3 separate regions of the Homo sapiens genome follow, and regions 2 and 3 are each linked to region 1. The links are contacts of gene promoters, found by promoter capture Hi-C in human tissues and cell types (Jung and others, 2019). All regions are on one chromosome and are shown on one strand. Each heading gives the region's core, a stretch centred on a gene start or on the middle of the fragment in contact. The rest is flanking DNA. Distances are from core to core; before and after follow the strand shown.

Evidence for each region. Contacts are between HindIII fragments. The study calls those that stand out against the background at their distance.
Region 2: a fragment that was not itself captured here is called in contact with the fragment with the promoter of SOX1 in region 1 in 2 of the 25 tissues and cell types used here (dorsolateral prefrontal cortex and thymus).
Region 3: a fragment that was not itself captured here is called in contact with the fragment with the promoter of SOX1 in region 1 in 2 of the 25 tissues and cell types used here (IMR-90 fibroblasts and dorsolateral prefrontal cortex).

Annotation. Positions count from the first base shown.
Region 1 is chr13:112,065,827-112,068,526 of GRCh38, forward strand. It overlaps SOX1 (SRY-box transcription factor 1), which reads left to right and starts at 1,323. Exons shown (of 1, transcript NM_005986.3): 1 at 1,323-2,700. The coding sequence starts at 1,833. All of the region lies in intron 1 of SOX1-OT (SOX1 overlapping transcript), which reads left to right. The HindIII fragment of the contact is 28,986 bases long and covers 1-2,700 here.
Region 2 is chr13:111,505,363-111,508,222 of GRCh38, forward strand. No RefSeq gene overlaps it. Among named protein-coding and RNA genes, the nearest start is that of LINC02337, 89 kb to the right of the region's middle. The HindIII fragment of the contact is 4,579 bases long and covers 1-2,860 here.
Region 3 is chr13:111,454,755-111,457,454 of GRCh38, forward strand. No RefSeq gene overlaps it. Among named protein-coding and RNA genes, the nearest start is that of TEX29, 140 kb to the left of the region's middle. The HindIII fragment of the contact is 4,337 bases long and covers 1-2,700 here.

The sequences.
Region 1 (2,700 bases), core at 73-2,572:
CAGGCCTTTCCTTTGCATGACGCAGACCGGCGGCTGAGACCCGTCCTGAGGCCCCGCCTTTCATTCGGTTTATGTGGCCCCGCGCAGTTCACGCAGTTTTCTCCGTTCTTAGGCAACCAGCTCGTGGGAAATTCACTCCAGAAAAGCGTGCGCCATATCATTATTTTGCGATTCAACAAACTTTTTCAACTGTTGTTCAGGAACTAGATTCCAGATAGATCTTGTTGTGTTCGGCCTTCCTAGAAATTCCTTTTCCAGAGGAAGAAGATCCGGGTTGGGAAGAGTGCGTGACTATGGCCCCGGGCTCATTGAAAGACTCCTCCCCACAAAAGTTTAGGGCTGATACTAAACGAAGCTATGGAGCCATGCCCACACAAATACTCCCCCTTTACCCGAATTGTGGGGCCTGGACTGTGAAGGCCTTCGCTGCAAGAGCGGGCACTGGCGAACTTCAGTGCACGCCGCGGCCGAGAACGGATGCAGGGCGGGGGATGGCTGAGCCGCCTGATCCTTGCAGAGAACCTGCAGGGGCCCTCGGAGGGTATCCCCTGCGTCCAAGGGAGCGCCCCTCCTTTTCAGCACTCGGGGGAACTGAGGGCGACGTGCCAGCCCCGCACTCAACTTTCCCCTTCCCTGCAGGCACAGAGTTGGCCGGCGGGGGCAGAGGAGGAGCTGGGTCTCCACTGCGCCCGTTTAAACCTGGCCAGGGGCTGCGTTTCCTCCCCCCACCCCACGACGATCCTTTCTTAGTCTTCGCTTTTCAACCCAATCGTTAATCATTCGGAACGCGCGGGCGGGGAGCGGCGAGGAGGGCGAGCTCGGGGTTCGCCGCCGCCGCCGCCGCCGCGCGCGCGCGCTCAGGAAGCGGTGTGGCTGTCACCCCCTCCCGGGCCTCCTCCCCCCTCCTTCCTGCTTTGCTCCCCCTCCTTCCTCCCCTCCTCCCCGCTCCGCCGCCCGCGCCCAGTGTATCTACTCCCTCCCCACGTCACTCGCCAGCGCGCCATGCAAATCACCGCCGCCGCCGGCTCCCATTGGCCGCGGCGCGCTCATTTAATGGCAGCCCGGGCCCGGCGTATGGCTGCTGGGCCCCGCGCGCCGCCGGCCCCGCGTGCGCCTCCGCTCCGAGCGCACGGCCCCGGGCAGGCAGCGGGCAGCCCATCCCGGGCTCGGCGGCCCCGGCTCTCCGGCCCTCTCCGCGAGCCCGCGCTCCTCCCGCTGTCCCCGGGCCCCTCCCTGGCTGCACCGTAATCGCCCCCTGCAGGCCCCCCTGCGCCTCCCCCCCCCCGCCACTGGCGCCTGGCTTCCCCCGGGCACCTGGGACCAGCACATGCCCAGCGCACGCGGCGCGCCGCCCTGCTAGAAGTTGCAGCCTCCGAGTTGGAGGCCGCTGAGGACCGAGCGCAGGAGGAAGGAGACAGCGCGCAGCGGCGGCCGGCGAGGAGACAGCACACCCCGGGCCGGGCCCAGCGCACCGCTCCCGGCCCCAAAAGCGGAGCTGCAACTTGGCCACGACTGCACCTGTTTGCACCGCTCCGCCGAGGGCGCCTGGGCTGCGGTGGCGGCGAAGACGGCGACCCCGACCGTCGGCCTCTTTGGCAAGTGGTTTGTGCATCAGGAGAAACTTTCCACCTGCGAGCCGAACCGGCGCCGAGTGCGTGTGTTTCTGCCTTTTTTTGTTGTCGTTGCCTCCACCCCTCCCCATTCTTCTCTCCGCTAGGACCCCCCCGCCCCCGTCTCACTCCGTCTGAATTCCTCTCCGTCTCCCTCCCACCCCGGCCGTCTATGCTCCAGGCCCTCTCCTCGCGGTGCCGGTGAACCCGCCAGCCGCCCCGATGTACAGCATGATGATGGAGACCGACCTGCACTCGCCCGGCGGCGCCCAGGCCCCCACGAACCTCTCGGGCCCCGCCGGGGCGGGCGGCGGCGGGGGCGGAGGCGGGGGCGGCGGCGGCGGCGGGGGCGCCAAGGCCAACCAGGACCGGGTCAAACGGCCCATGAACGCCTTCATGGTGTGGTCCCGCGGGCAGCGGCGCAAGATGGCCCAGGAGAACCCCAAGATGCACAACTCGGAGATCAGCAAGCGCCTGGGGGCCGAGTGGAAGGTCATGTCCGAGGCCGAGAAGCGGCCGTTCATCGACGAGGCCAAGCGGCTGCGCGCGCTGCACATGAAGGAGCACCCGGATTACAAGTACCGGCCGCGCCGCAAGACCAAGACGCTGCTCAAGAAGGACAAGTACTCGCTGGCCGGCGGGCTCCTGGCGGCCGGCGCGGGTGGCGGCGGCGCGGCTGTGGCCATGGGCGTGGGCGTGGGCGTGGGCGCGGCGGCCGTGGGCCAGCGCCTGGAGAGCCCAGGCGGCGCGGCGGGCGGCGGCTACGCGCACGTCAACGGCTGGGCCAACGGCGCCTACCCCGGCTCGGTGGCGGCGGCGGCGGCGGCCGCGGCCATGATGCAGGAGGCGCAGCTGGCCTACGGGCAGCACCCGGGCGCGGGCGGCGCGCACCCGCACGCGCACCCCGCGCACCCGCACCCGCACCACCCGCACGCGCACCCGCACAACCCGCAGCCCATGCACCGCTACGACATGGGCGCGCTGCAGTACAGCCCCATCTCCAACTCGCAGGGCTACATGAGCGCGTCGCCCTCGGGCTACGGCGGCCTCCCCTACGGCGCCGCGGCCGCCGCCGCCGCCGCTGCGGGCG
Region 2 (2,860 bases), core at 190-2,689, 560 kb before region 1:
CCTCACATCCACAGACACCACACGCTTTTCTTTGAGCCGCATTTGTTCTTCTCGAGGGTCCCTACATCTGGGAGACGTCAGAAGTCGGACTCTTTTATCTTTGGGTGTGGCTCTCCTGGCACCTTGCAAAGTCCACGCATACACCCATGAAGCCTTCTGTGTTTGGGCAGTGGTGGGGAGGCTGTCCCGTTTCTTCTTTGCCTTTGCGGCGAAGAGGATCATTGAGAACGCTGAGGACATGCACACCGATGTCGTGGCCTCCCAGCACTGCACGCCCCTAGGGAGCTTCTCGTCAGCTCATCTTCCTGTCTTGTTCCCCTCCCCTATAGAACGTTGGGATTAAAACATCAGATCATTGCCTCTCCTAGGTTTTTATTCTTGATGAATGCCAACAGAAACTATTGAAGACTATGGTGAACTAGAATGCATCATTGTCCTACAGGCTCTCAGATTACTTTGAAAAATATTGAAAAAAATCCCAGAACTTTGGGAGGCCAAAGCAGGCAGGTCACTTGAGGCCAGGAGTTCGAGACCAGCCTGGCCAACATGGCAAAACCCTGTCTCTACTAAAAAAATCCAAAAATTAGCCAGGTATGGTGGCATGCTCCTGTAATCACTGCCACTCAGCAGGCTGAGGCAAGAGAATCGCTTGAACCCAGGAGGTGGAGGTTGCAGTGAGTGGAGATCGTGCCACTGCACTCCAGCCTGGGCAACAGAGCGAGACTCTGTCTCAGGGAAAAAAAAAAATATATATATATATATATATTACAGAGGTCAATGAAAACAAAATACGCAATCAGAAATAAACCATGCCTCTGTAGTCTCTGAGCTCAGGGCGTGGAGCTGTGGCCCTGGAAGGCGGATCCCCTCCTGCCTTTGCATCTGGAGAGCTGAAGGCCTCAGGGCATCTGCTGCCTGGGGGTGTAGGTGGCTGCTGGTGCTGCCTCCATGAGCACATGCAGCTGTGACCTGCACTGAACCCTTGTCCTCATCTGTCTCTAGGGCACACATGCTGTCCGGGGAGGATGCAGTGCCCGGCACATAGGCAGCTCTTGATGAGAGTGTTGTATTTGTATTTGGAATCTGGGTGACCCCTCCATCCCTGCACCATTGCCCTCCTCAAGGACTCCACTGCACAATTCGGGGGATCCCCATCTCTGACAGCACCTGGGAGGCTGGGCCGCTGCAGCAAGTCCTCCACCAGGAGTCAGAGCCACTCGGTGAAAACACAAATGTGGCCATGTTGCTCCCCGTCCCACCTACCTTTGGCAAGTAACGCTCATTTCAAACACAAGGAAGGAGCTCTGTGACCTTCTCAACTCGGTCTCCGCCACTCCAGTGTGTGGATGGAGCATATATTGCCTGTCTCCCTTCCTCTTTGGGGCTGAGGAGGACTCCAGTGTGTGGATGGAGCATGTTTTGCCCATCCCCTCCTCCACGGATGGTTGCGTTGTATCCTTCTCTGGGCAGCTGTGAGCATCACTGCTGTGAGCGAGAGTGGATGGATGTCTGAGTGCCCAGTGGGCCCCTGAGGGCACCATCTGCCTCTTCTCCAACCCTTCACAGGTGCTGCCCTGCCATCAGGTGCCAGCAGCACCCCCACTAACCTGACGGCCTCTGCTTGCCCTTCCAAGCCTTCAAGCAAGTGTCCCCCTAGGGACAGCCCAGGCTGCATGTGTGCCCTTCACCCAAGCCTCCATGCGAATGTCCCCCCAGGGACAGCCTGCACTGCGCGTGTGCGCTTTGTCCAAGTTTCTATCACATCCTGTACCTCGGTCCCAGAATCTCTTACTTTTTGCGCTGCCATAGCTGCTATACTTAGTCAGCTTCCCTGCTCAACTGCAAGACACTTAAGAGACAAAAATGAGGCCTGAACTTTTGTGACCCCAACAAATAAATATGTGTTGGCTGGATTCATGGCAAGAAAATCAGGCAGCATGGGTGGCTTAGGGACAACCCATCTGTAAACCCATTTTAACTGCCAGTTTCACCTCATCCCTCCAGCCTCAGCCTCCACCCTCACCCTCACTTCCCTTCTGAGCCTAATGTCCTAGGCCTTTGTTTGGGATGGACTGTGGGGCTCCTCATCTCCCTGAGCACAGCCCCTTTCTGCAGATGCTGAAACCATGAACAACCCCATGCTGGTGGCTGGGTGAGTGAACGGGGGTGCTGGTGGCTGGGTGAGTGAACGGGGGTGCTGGTGGCTGGGTGAGTGAACGGGGGTGCTGGTGGCTGGGTGAGTGAACGGGGGTGCTGGTGGCTGGGTGAGTGAACGGGGGTGCTGGTGGCTGGGTGAGTGAACGGGGGTGCTGGTGGCTGGGTGAGTGAACGGGGGTGCTGGTGGCTGGGTGAGTGAACGGGGGTGCTGGTGGCTGGGTGAGTGAATGGGGGTGCTGGTGGCTGGGTGAGTGAATGTGGGCATAGGCTCCACAGCGTGGATCCCTCCTCCTGGAAAGACCACCAGCAGCCTTTGTTTGAGGAAATTCTGTGCTTTTATTTTCATACAATACAAGGTGACATTATTCACAATGGGAAAAAATATGGCAAAATAAATAACGGAAACCACTTTTCATTGACTTCCCCAGTCATTTGACCTGCCCCCCAGCCTCGGTGCTCAGGTCTCTGGTTAACTACTGATGGTATCAAGAGATTCACTGCACCTTCGGGGGCTGAATTCCTTATTTGTCAATTTTGCTCATTTTATGTTCTTGGTTTGCCCCGACCCACAACAAAAGCTTGGTCCATCAAGAGAATAACATCTATTCGTCACCAGCCAAACCAGATCCCAGGAGAGAACCACATCAGCCACACATCAGCATCTTTTGGGATCATGGCTTTTTGACCCAGACTAACAGAAATA
Region 3 (2,700 bases), core at 42-2,541, 610 kb before region 1:
CTACCATAAGGTTGCCATTCCACCTATGGGTATTTACTCAAAAACAAAACAACAACAACAAAAAAAACCTTGTATGTCCAAACAAAGACTTGTACATGGATGCTTAGCATTTTTTTTCTTTTTTTGTGATGGAGTTTCACTCTTGTCACCCAGGCTGGAGTGCAATGGCATGATCTCTGCTCACTGCAACTTCTACCCCCTGGGTTCAAGCAATTCTCCTGCCTCAGCCTCCTGAGTAGCTGAGATTACAGGTGCCCACCACCACGCCTGGTTAATTTTTATATTTTTAGTAGAGGTGGGGGTTTCACCATGTTGACCAGGCTGGTCTTGAACTCCTGTCCTCAGGTGATCTACCCACCTTGGTCTCCCAAAGTGCTGGGATTACAGATGTGGGCAACCACACCCAGCCAAATGCTCAGTATTTGTAATAGCCCAAAGTGAAACAATTCAAGCACCCCTCATGTTGAAATGTAATCTTCAATGTTGGAGGTGGGTCCTACTGGGAAGTGTTCGGGTCATGGTTGTGGATCACTTATGAGTGGCTTGATGCCCTTCCCATGGTAATGAGTGAGTTCTCACTCTATTAGTTCACAGGAGAGCTGGCTGTTAAAAGGAGTCTGTCACCTCCTCCCCCGTCTCTCATGCTCCTTCTTTTGCCATGTGACACACCTGTTCCCTCTTTGCCTTCTGCCATGATTGGAAGCTTCCTAAGACTTCCTCAAGAAGCCGGGAAGATGCTGGTGCCAAGCTTGTGCAGCCTGCAGTACTGTGAACCAATTACACCTGTTTTCTTTATAAATTACCCAGCCTCAGGTATTCCTTTATAGCAACACAAAGCAGACTAATACATGTACAATAGAATACTACTTAGGAATGTAAAGGAATAAATATTGATACTTACAACAACATGGATGAATTTCAGAATAATCATGCTGAGCAAAAGTCAGGCAAAAGGATGCATCCTTTATTCTTTCATTTATATAAAATTCTAGAAAATGTAAACTAATCTACAGTGACAAAGTAGGGCAGGGGCCTATGGGAGGGAGAGAGGGAAGGATGATGAAGGAGCATGAGGAAGCTTGGGCTGATGGACGTGTTCGCTATCTTGATTGTGGTGATGGTTTCGTAGGCATATGTTTATGTCAAACCTCAAATCACACAATTTAAGTAAATGCCATTTATTGTATGCCAATTATATTTCAATAAAAATATATTCTTCCATTTCCCCCAAAAAACGCTAGAGAAATGCCTCAGGCAGAACCTTAGTGAGACAATGTATTTAATGCATCTAGAGCAGGGCCTGATGTATCAGGTGCACTCAATAAAGGGTACTTTTCTTTCACTTTCCTTCCCCACCCCATCAAAATATTTAGATTACTGTACATCCAGTACAGAAACTTGTAGTTTCTCCTGTACAGATTATGGTGGAGCAGAAAGGCACTCATGTTTTGATCCTCAAAGGTCATTCAATACTATTTGTTTGAGGCTGAAACTTTTCAATGCTTTCACAGTATTTGGAACAAGACATGATTACCAGAAGCACATGTAGTTCAGTGTTGAAATTTCATTTTTTTGAAATGCATCTGGGTTTTAAAAATGTAGTTGCATGATTGAGCTTTTGCATGGAGGCCATCTTCATCCAGGAAGCATTTATTGAGGGCCCTCCGAGGTGTTTCTGACGCGTAGCAAAGGCTGTTAAATGAGTTACAGAAACGACCCAGCACGGCCGACACCTCCTTGTTCGGCTGTTGGCAGTTCTGTTCTTTGCCGCCTCCTTCCTGGTGGGCTCTGGGTGAGCCACTGCCATATACACTCTTTTATGTTGGTGTCTTTCCCTTTATCGCTGTCACTGTGTGCCTGTCTCAGCAGTGTCGTGCCTAAGTGTGTTGCGACATCTCCACTTCCACCCATTTCTGTGGAGGCTTCCTTCATTTTTGGTGCCAAGAGGTACCACGTGCCTGAAGCTGAGTTGCACCAAGGGAGGCTCTGGAATGTCAGGCACCAGTCTTTGAACCTACATGCAAGAAACGGTGAAATAATTTGATTTCCTCTCAAGAGGGGAATACAGGATGCAAAATGGAGACCTTTGTGTATGGAAGCCTTTGATGAGACTTGTGCCTGGAGGCCTTCTTTCAATGGTGACCGCAATGTGGGCAAAGCCTCCCTTGCAGAACCTCCAGCGAGTGTGGAAGAAGCCGCCCAGGAAGCTTTTGCCATATGGTGAGGGGGACCCACAGGAGGGAGCCATGCTCCCTGAGAGCAGGCTTCATCCCGGACGCTGGCCTGGGGTGTCTGGCACGTGCTGCCATTCCCCCATTTCCACCAGCCTGGCGCTGGGATGCAGCAAATGACTGCATGCAACTTACAAATGCATCGTGGATTCCACCAAATGATAAACGAGAGGATATTGTCCCCTGAGCTCACAAATGAAAAGTCAACAATTTAAGCAACAGTTGATGTCCCGCTTGTCTACCCCCAGTGACCCTGGTTTCATGGGGCAGAAAGGGCTCTTGCCTCTGTCTCTGTGTAACTGCTGACTGTACCTTGAAGTGCACCCTTTATCAGAGATAGATGCTATCAGTCAAAGTCGGTATCAGGACAATTCTCCACTGATACATGGAGTTAAATCTACAGTTGTGTGAGTTCCCAGGAAGCTCTTAACTCCAGGGAAAGTGGAGAGATGGAGAGCTTATTCCATAA